2 separate regions of the Homo sapiens genome follow, and region 2 is linked to region 1. Evidence: promoter capture Hi-C in 16 types of primary human blood cells and fetal thymus (Javierre and others, 2016). All regions are on one chromosome and are shown on one strand. The core of a region is centred on a gene start or on the middle of the fragment in contact, and the rest is flanking DNA. Distances in the headings are between cores, read along the strand shown.

Region 1 (4,941 bases), core at 972-3,471:
CCAGAACCCTTCCCCTTGGGGAGTGATGGGGTGGAAACTGGGGCTTCCTCCAGCACTGTGCTCTTTGCTCAGGTGTGTGTTTGACAAGTTTGTCTGCACAGAACACAGTTGAGTGAACAGAAAAGCTGTTGTCACCAAGGGAGTGTTGTGACACATTTTTGGCTGAAGAAATTACATAGATTTTGCTCTCCTGAATTGTGATTACATTCTACAGAGGATTCAATTTTGGATTTTGCTTTTTTTTTGTTTTTGAGAGAGAGTCTTGCTCTGTTGCCCAGGCTGGAGTGCAGTGGTCCAATCTCAGCTCACTGCAAGCTCCACCTACCAGGTTCAAGTGATTCTCCCGGGTTCAAGCAATTCTCCTGCCTCAGCCTCCCAAGTAGCTGGAATTACAAGCGCCCTCCTTCATGCCCGGCTAATTTTTGTATTTTTGTAGAGATGGAGTTTTACCATGTTGGCCAGGCTGGTCTTGAACTCCTTTGACCTCAGGTGATCCACCCACCTCGGCCTCCCAAAGTGCTGGGATTATAGGCGTGAGCCACCGCGCCCCGCCAGGATTGTGACCCATGCGCTCACCTCCTGTCTCCCCGAGGGCCTGAGCTCCTTTTCTTTGGCCTGTCTGATTGATGGTTGCCCATCTACTTTCTATTCTGCTTTCTGGAAAACCCCTGAGCATTTCAAGCCTCCAAGTCCTGAGAATTTCTGCAGCTTTCCCAAGCAGGAAGACCAGGGAGAGGAGAAGAGAAGGAGATGCTGGCAGGGGCAGCAGGGCCGGGGTGACCTCTCCCAGCTCAGGGCCCTAGCTCTGGTCTTTCCAGGGATGGATCTCCCATCCTCCCAGTATTTCTGCCACCCATCCTCTAACCCATTAAAAATAAGAAAAGTGAATAAAATTCTCCCCTTCAAAATAAGAGCTCTTAATATTTCAGTTCAATTAATTCCTGGCATTTTACCTATTCATGTTATTTTATTTTATTTTTTTAGTTTTAGTAGATAAGGGGGTCTCCCTGTGTTGCCCAGGCTGGTTTGGAACTCCTGGCCTTTAGTGATGATCCTCCCCTCTCAGCTTCCCAAAGTGTTGGGATTACAGGCATGAGCCATTTTGCCTGGCCAGGCAGGAAAATGGCGTGAACCCAGGAGGTGGAGCTTGTAGTGAGCCGAGATTGCGCTCCAGCCTGGGCAACAGACTGAGACACCCCTTCTCAAAAAAACAAAACGAAACAAAAAATCAGGGTAGCACTTCCATCCCCAGGCCCAGGCCACTCTTCTAAGTGCTGAGAGGATCTGAGCTCACGTGAGGCTGCCCTAGGCCTGCAGGGGCCATTCTCATCTTACAGAGGAGGGGCCAGAGGTGCAGAGAGGTGGGGTAACCTGCCCAGGCCATGGAGCTGGGCCACTTTCCTGGCCAGCCCTGCCAGCCTCTGCATCACGGGCCCTGCAGGAGGGAGCCTTTGGGAACCAGGCTCTCTTCTTCCTAAATTTTAAAATAAAAGCATTTCTCCTGATCATTGAGTTTTTCCGTATATTCCGTGTTACTGGTGTCATTATAAACGGTGAATGTGAATACTGATCATGGAGGAGGAGTGTGTGTTCAGGGTCATCTGCATCCTCCTCTGCCCACAGTGGAGACATCCTTGGAAGAGATGATTTGCCTTGTGCTTCAGAGATCATTGCCTCCCCACACCCTCTCCTAAGACTTTGTATTGAAACAAAGTAATCTTACACAAAGTTCATCAAAGCACTGTGAACAAAATTCCAGATTGCTCCCATCATCCTTTAGTTCAGTTCTCCCAGTTCCAGAGCCCAGGAATGGCAGGAAGCACACAGAGAGAGCACCCTCCCAAGGTGGGGAGCACTAGCCCAGCCATGACTCTTAGGGGAGAGTCTCAGCAGGGGTCTTGGGCTGGTGCAGGCCGGGGAGGCGGCCCGTTCAGAAGCAGCAGTGGGGTGACCACACAGCAGGGCAAAGAGCCTGGGTGGGAGTGGGGATGGCAGGGGAGCCAGAGGAGAAGGAGCCCAGGGCTGGGGCTGGGGCAGCGGGAGGCCAGGGCTGAGGCACAGAAGGGCTGCCAGGCAGGAAGTGGCAGCAGAGGGCCCAGTGGACAGAGTGGGCGGCAGTACCTGATCTGTGCTTCTGGCCACAGCTTCCTTAGCAGACTTGCCCCTGCTTGTCTGAGGCACTAAGTTTCACTTTTGGCAGCTCTCCCAAAAGTCACAAAAGGTCAGCTCTCCCAAAAGTCACAAAAAGTCACTGCTTGATGAGGGTGGCTCCACCCTCTTCCTTTTGTGGGACTGGAGTGGGAGGGCCCTGGGGTGCTTCAGATCCCTCAGGCTCCTTTCTTTCTCTATTTCCTCGGGCTTGGCAGGGGAAGTCTGATGGAGGTGGCTCACCTCCCATCCTCCCACCCCCAATTCCCTCTCCAGGTACAGCCAGACTCAACTCCCTCCCCAGGTATAGTTTACAAAAGAACAAAGGCCAGATGCGGTGGCTCACACCTGTAATCCGAACACTTTGGGAGGCTGAGGTGGGCAAATTACAAGGTAAGGAGATGAAGACCATCCTGGCCAACATGGTGAAACCCCGTCTCTGCTAAAATACAAAAAATTAGCCAGGTTTGGTGGCCTGCGCCTGTAGTTCCAGCTGCTTGGGAGGCTGAGGCAGGGAAATTGCTTGAACCTTGGAGGCAGAGGTTGCAGTGAGCCGACGTCGCACCACTGCACTCCACCCTGGCAACAGAACGAGACCCTGTCTCAAAAAATAAATAAATAAATAAAAATAAAAAAGAAAGAAAAAAGAAAGGAATTGATGGCTGGTCACGGTGCCTGTTATCCCAGCACTTTGGGAGGCTGAGGCAGGTGGATTGCCTGAAGTCAGGAGTTCAAAATCAACCTGGCCAACCGCACTCCAGCCTGGGCAATAAGAACAAAACTCCGTCTCAAAAACTAAACTAAACTAAAATAAATGAAAGGAATAGAAGCCACAGAAAGGAGCAGGGATCCAGACCAGGGCTGACACCATAGACCAGATGCCACTCCCCTGGTGGACAGGGCAGGCTGCAGCCCCCTCCCCACCACCCCACTGACCTTTGGCATTCAGCCTCCTGGCAGGACCCTGAGCCTGATGTGAAATGAGCACTGGGGTCAGGCTCAGGACTGCATCTCCAGCGGATCCAGTGCCCATTATCTAGCCCAGTCCCCAGATAGCACTGGGAGGGGAGGGCAGTGATCCTGACAGTCAGAGGAGGTCCCAAGCACAGAGAGGCTAAGATACTGTCCCCACGTCACACAGCAAATCAACAGCAGAGCTGGAGTGCTGGCCAGGACTTCCTGTGTCCCTTCTCCCCCACAGCTAGCTACTTTGAGGTTCTTCATTGCTCCATGGAAAGGAGCAGGAGAGGAGACACGAGGGAGGGGACTTACTGCTCCTAAAGGGCCTCCCAGGTCAGAGATGAAGGACCTGGACTTCACATTTGCATTCTGGAACCCATGTCCTCGTCTTCATGCATATCAACCAACACCCTTCAGATCATAAACACCAAAGAGCCAGGCCAGGTGCTGTGGCTCACGCCTGTAATCCCAGCACTTCGGGAGGCTCAGGCAGGCTGATGACCTGAGGTCAGGAGTTCGAGACCAGCCTGGGCAACACGGTGAAACCTCGTCTCTACTAAAAATACAAAAATTAGCCAGGCGTGGTGGCGGGCATCTGTAATCCCAGCTACTCAGGAGTCTGAAGCAGGGGAATCATTCGAACCTGGGAGGCAGAGGTTGCAGCGAGCCGAGATTGTGCCACTGCACTCTAGCCTGGTCGACAAGAACGGGACTCTGTCTAAAAGAAAAGAAAAAGAAAAACCAAAGAACCCCTAGGAAAGTTGAATCCCAAGGGCGAGGACTAGGGGCAGTCACTGCGGAGTCTAGGTTCCACACCAAGGAGTCCCATTGAACCTTGCCCAGCTTGTCCCTCCATATCCTCCCGCCCTGCACACCCTGACAGCCCTCTAGACCCTGCATGGCCCCTGGGGTCACAGGAGCTTGGGTGAGAATTTAGAAGGTTCCTGGGAATGGCATCCCCTCCACCCTATCTGTCCTAAATGTTGGGGCTACAGTCCATGGAAGATTCCAGAATGAGCGGGGTCCTGCCAGGAGAGACATCAGATCTGCACACTGTAGTGCTGGTTAATCACAGAGCTGAGTCTCCCAGGCTGAGAAGCAGGGAGGATGGAAAGGAAGGCGGAACCCTTTCCTGGTCCTTCCCACAGGCAGCATTCCCACTACTCCTCCAGTGAATTCCTGCAGCAGAGACCCTGTGGTGTCTAGGACGGGCCTGTGCTTAGGTGTTATCTCCAGGAGGACGGGAGGTTAGGCTGGCCACTCTGGCCTGTGTTCGTTGCTGCAAAGGGGGACCCGATCCAGACCCCAAGAATGGGTTCTTGGATCTCTCACAGGAAAGAACTCAAGCTGAGCCACAGGGTGCGGTGAAGTTGTGATCATTTATTAGAAGCTCCGGCACTACAGACTAGGGAGGCCTCAGAAGGCAGAAGGAAGAACGTCCCGTCTTTGTTTTAAGCTTCTTTTTTTTTTTTTTGAGATGGAGTCTCGCTCTGTCACCCAGGATGTGGTGCAATGGTGCGATCTCGGCTCACTTCAACCTCTGCCTCCCAGGTTTAAGAAATTCTCCTGCCTCAGACTCCCGAGTAGCTGGGTTCACAGGTGTGCAGTGCCACACCCAGCTAATTTCTGTATTTTTAGTAGAGAGGGGATTTCATCATATTGGCCAGGCTGGTTTCAAACTTCTGACTCCTGATCTGCCCACCTCAGCCTCCCAAAGTGTTGGGATTACAGGTGTGAGCCACCACGCCCGGCCTAAATCTCCCCTTTATAAGAACACCAGATTTATTGGATTAGGAACTACCCCAATGACCTCATCCACTGTGCCTGGCCTAA
Region 2 (4,941 bases), core at 1,709-4,208, 280 kb after region 1:
TGGGCCCAGGCTGAGTGTGAGTGAGCATGTCAAGTTGTCTGACACTGTGACATTAGTGCACCCTACTGACAACCCCTCCCCAGCCTTGCCCCTTTCTCCTCTCCCTGTTTTGTACATAAATTGACATGAGCTGCAACATGTGTGCGTGTGTGTGCGTGTGTGTGTGTGTGTATGTGTGTGTGATCTGTGTCATGGTTTTGTTACCTTTTTGTTTTTGTAAACTTGAATGTTCAAAATAAACATGCTGTTTACTCTGAGGCTCTTCTTTGCAGGGATGGGGCTGCCCTAGGGGGTGCTGGGCAGGAAGGAGGGGGCTGCTTTGGACAGGGCCACAGGGAAGCGCAGAGGAGACGCCTGATCCTGGACAGCCCCAGGGCCACACACGCTCCTAAATATGCCCCCCAGCTGACAAGTTCTCCCTGTTCCAGGCTTAGACACACCCCATTTCCCAGGATTTATGCAGGAAGGATGTAAAGAACCCAAGTCCCACATGGAACGTGTCCCAGTTCTGATAACTGGGCTTCGGCCTCATTCCCAATACCCCGTCCACATCTTGTGCTCTAGTTCAGGGATCCGGGTCCCTGACTTGTTTCCTGGGACCTAGTCTGTCCCAGTCACTTGCCTGGACCCCCAGAGTGTTTCATCTCTTGGAGTCCTAGGGAGGGGTGCCGGGGTGAGGGGCCCTGGTTGTTGTATTTCAGCCGCTCCCTTCCCCACACTACCCAGACTCCTCTGATATGTTTGGCCTCTAGACTGGACTCTAAGACCAGCATCAGGGTCAGCTACCCCACCCCACCCCTGCAGCACCTGCCCCATCCTTAAGAGGTTCTTGATTAGTCCCCAGCCCTCCCTGCACACACCATCTTAGGGGCACAAAGCCTTCATCCTCCTACTCTCTCAATACTGTCACTGTTCTTGGTTGGATGTCTTCCTCAGATGATCCCTGTGAAAAGTCAGGGTGCTAGCCAGGGATCAGGGGATCACACCGGCAGGACAGGGCTTTCCAGACTTTTCCAAAGCTTCCCAAACTTCCAACAAGAGTAGCGTCACCACATGAGGACCAGGGGGTAGGTATCCCTGGAAGTGGCACTTCAAAACAGAGAAACTGCATTTGAAGTCTGTTATCTGACAAATTCATGCGCTTTTTTCATTCTACTCCAGAATGAATCCAGATTTGTTTTAAGATAAAAATATTTGAATTACCACTGAGCAAAATTAAGCTACAGGCAGCTATGCCTTGTTTATCCTCTTTTGCACCAGTTTACTTGCAAACACCCCATCTCCCTCTGTCTCACTCAGCTGGCAAGGTCCAACCCTGGTGAAATCCTGCTGTCCACCTGCTTCGTGCCAGCACCTGCACAATTGAATGCGGATGTGAAAAAGCACGGATTTTGATGTGTGTTGACTCTCATTTTCTTTTCTATTTATTTATTTATTTTTGATATGGAGTCTTACTCCATCTCCCAGGCTGGAGTGCAGTGGCACAATCTCGGCTCACTACAACTTCCGCCTCCCACGTTCAAGTTTCTCCTGCCTCAGCCTCCCGAATAGCTGGGACTACAGGCACATGCCACCATGCCCAGCTAATTTTTTTTTTTTTTAGTAGAGATAGGGTTTCACCATGTTAGTCAGGCTGGTCTCAAACTCCTGACCTCAAATGATCCACCTGCCTCAGCCTCCTAAAGTGCTGGGATTACAGATGTGAGCCACCGCGCCCAGCCTGACTCTCATTTTCAGTCCTTGGCCAGAGATCTCCAACCCTGCCCTGCAATCTTAGTACACATTCCTTGTTTGGGGTCTTACTCTCCAAAGTGACTACATCATATTCCCTCTCTCCTCAAATCTACAGCCCTCCACTCCCAGCTCTGCACACTCAAGGGTGGCCTCACCTCCTAGTTCATTGAGAAAACCATTAGTTCAGTGTTCCCCCATCACCCCACCACCAAGTCTGCCTGCAAACCCGCACTGTACCCAGATTTTCTGGCTTCCCCTGGTTACTCTGAATAAACTGTCACTGTTCCTATCAGAGGCGCTGTGTAATGGATCCCCTTCCACTTTATCTTCTCAATAACATTTCTCCTGCATTACCAACCTATCCTTATCTACTTTGTCATTTCAATGGGCCTCCACGTCTGCCCCAGTATCTCCTCTCTTACACAGAATCCCCATCTTGGGCCAATACCTCCTGCAGCTGTCACTCATTCCTTTTCTCCTTTCACTGCAAAACCTCTTGAAAAATCAGGAGTATCAGGGGTCCCCAAGACCACCCACAGGTTTGATGATTCACTGGAAAGACTCACAGAACTCAGAAAAGCTGCTAAACTCATGGTTACGGTTTATTACATTGAAAAGATACAGATGCAAATTAGCCAAGGAGAAAGGCATATAGGGTGGAATCCAGGACAGACCAGGAGCAGGATTCCAGTTGTTCTTTCCCAAAGTCCTACGGAGAGCACTTCATTCTCTCAGCAATGATGTGTGACACACACACAAGAGACTTGTCCATCAGGGAAGCTCACCCCAGTCTTGGTGTCCAGGGTCTATACTGGGGGATGGTTATGTAATGGAGCACCCGTATGACTGACCTTAACTACTCAGTCTCAGGACCCTCTCCAGAGGTCAAACTGATACAGTGTGACCAAGGGCATTTGGCATAAAAGACTTTGTCAGCATAAATTATCTGGCATGGCCCAAGGTAAACAAAGATAGTCTCATCAGGCAGGACCTTCCAAGGGTTTAGAAGTTACCTGCTGGGGAGCTGCTCCAGGCCCAGTCCTTTCTTTGGAATGCACAGGGTTCCATCAGCCCAAGCCTGCTGAGTTAACCCTTTGCTAGACAGTGGGTCTACAGTTTTTTGGGGGTTTTGGGTGTTTTGTTTTTGTTTTTGAGATGGAGTCTCACTTTGTCACCCAGACTGGAGTGCAGTGGCACCATCTTGGCCCACTGCAACCTCTGCCTCCCGGGTTCAAGCGATTCTCCTGCCTCAGTCTCCCGAGGAGCTGGGATTACAGGCATGTGCCACCACACCCGGCTAATTTTTATATTTTTAGTAGAGACGGGGTTTCGCCATGTTGGCCAGGCTGGTCTCAAACTCCTGAGCTCAAAATAATCCTCCTGCCTTGGCCTCCCAAAGTACTGGGATTACAGGCGTGAGCCACCACAGTCAGCCAGGTCTACAGTTTTGATGCCACTTCATCCCACTTTCATTCACATCTTGTCCAGTTCCCATGAGGCTGCTGTTCCCCCCACACCCCCACTCCACCGAAGTCTTACCTGTCCAGGCCAACAATAACGTCCACGTTACAAAATCCAATGGCCAGGCCTCTGCCATTGTCTTAGCCACACTCTCAGCTGCATCTAACATACTCCTTCCTTCTTGAAAAATGTATCCTCTTGCCTTCCAAAACACACCCTCTCCTGGTTTGTCTTTCACCTCAGTGGTTCTCAAATTGTAGCCTGCATTACAATCGCCTGGAGCGAGTTAAAGCACTGGTCGCTGACCTCTGGGCTCCACCCTGGAGGTTCTGAGGCAGTAGATCTGGGGTGGGGCCCAATCGTCTGCTTCTCTAACAAGCGCCAGATGATGCTATGGCTGCTGGTCCTGGGACCACACTTTGAGAACTACTGCTCTATTTCACTGGCGGTTCCTACTAGGACTCCTTCTGGTGCCTCCTCATCTCCCTGGTCCCTAAATGCTGCACTACCCCAGGGCGCAGTTCTGGGTCTCTTTATTCTTTCTACCTAGATGCTCTCCCTAGGAAATCTCATCCAAGCCCATGGCTTTGACTCCCTCCTAGATTTTTCCCTGAACTCCACATTTGCATATCCAGGTTACCCAATAGGAGTCTCAAAATGTAGGTATCCAAAACTAAGCACTTGATCTTCCTCTCCCTACCCCACTCACCCCCTTCTCAATAAATAGGCTCAAATAAATAGGCTCAATTCCGGTTGCTCATTGACTTCTCTCTTTCTATTGCCCATCTATTCAATCCATCGCCCATTGACTCAACTACTAACCCATATCTCAACCCACGTTCACTCCTTTCCACTCTGCTACCACTCTGTTCCAAGCCACCATTGTCTCTTAAAAATGCAGTTTCCTCTCTTAAAATCCATTCTCTGGCCGGGTGCAATAGTAACTCACCCCTGTAATCCCAACACTTTGGGAGGTCGGGCAGGAGGATTGCTTGAGCCGAGGAATTCAAGACCAGCCTAGGCAACAGAATGAGATCCTGTCTCCACAAAATTTTTTTTTTTTTTTAATTAGCTGGGCGTGGTGGTGCACACCTGTAGTTCTAGCTACTCTGGAGGCTGAGGCGGGAGGATCACTTGAGTCTGGGAGATAGAGGCTACAGTGAGCCCTGATTGTTCCACTATACTCCAGCCTGAGTCACAGAGTGGGACTCTTAAAAAAAGAATTAGTTCTCCTTATGACACCTACAATGATCATGTTGCAATCAAAATATTGTCACTCCCCTCTGTAAAACTCCAAAGCAGCCCGGGCATGGTGGCTCACGCCTGTAATCCCAGCACTTTGGAAGGCCAAGGCAGGTGGATCACCTGAGGTCAGGAGTTTGAGACCAGCCTGGCCAACACAGTGAAACCCCGTCTCTATTAAAAATACAAAAATTAGCTGGGCATGGTGGCAGGTGCCTGTAAGCCCAGCTACTCAGTAGGCTGAAGCAGGAGAATTGCTTGAACCCAGGAGGCGGAGATTGCAGTCCAGCCTGGGCAACATAGCCAAGACTCTGTTGAAAAGAAAAGAGAAGAGAAGAGAAGAGAAGAGAAGAGAAGAGAAGAGAAGAGAAAAGAAAGAAAAAAAATAGAAAAGAAAAGAAAAGAAAAAAGAAAAGAGAAAAGGAAAAGACAAGACAAGACAAGACTCTCCAAAGCTTCCCAGTTCGCTTAAACTAAAATCCACGCCCTCGTGGTGACTCTCAA

The links. The method cuts DNA at HindIII sites, captures the fragments that hold promoters and counts their contacts. A CHiCAGO score of 5 or more calls a contact.
Region 2: a contact is called between a fragment that was not itself captured here and the fragment with the promoter of APOBEC3H in region 1, in 1 of 17 cell types (erythroblasts). The highest score is 5.4, in erythroblasts.

The regions. Positions count from the first base shown.
Region 1 is chr22:39,094,524-39,099,464 of GRCh38, reverse strand. It overlaps APOBEC3H (apolipoprotein B mRNA editing enzyme catalytic subunit 3H), which reads right to left and starts at 2,221. Exons shown (of 5, transcript NM_181773.5): 1 at 2,122-2,221. RefSeq lists enhancers at 803-1,689, 2,020-2,359, 1,690-2,577, 1,900-3,099. The HindIII fragment of the contact is 11,404 bases long and covers 1-4,566 here.
Region 2 is chr22:38,813,768-38,818,708 of GRCh38, reverse strand. NPTXR (neuronal pentraxin receptor) reads left to right here. Exons shown (of 5, transcript NM_014293.4): 5 at 1-257. Among named protein-coding and RNA genes, the nearest start is that of DNAL4, 22 kb to the right of the region's middle. The HindIII fragment of the contact is 3,873 bases long and covers 1,022-4,894 here.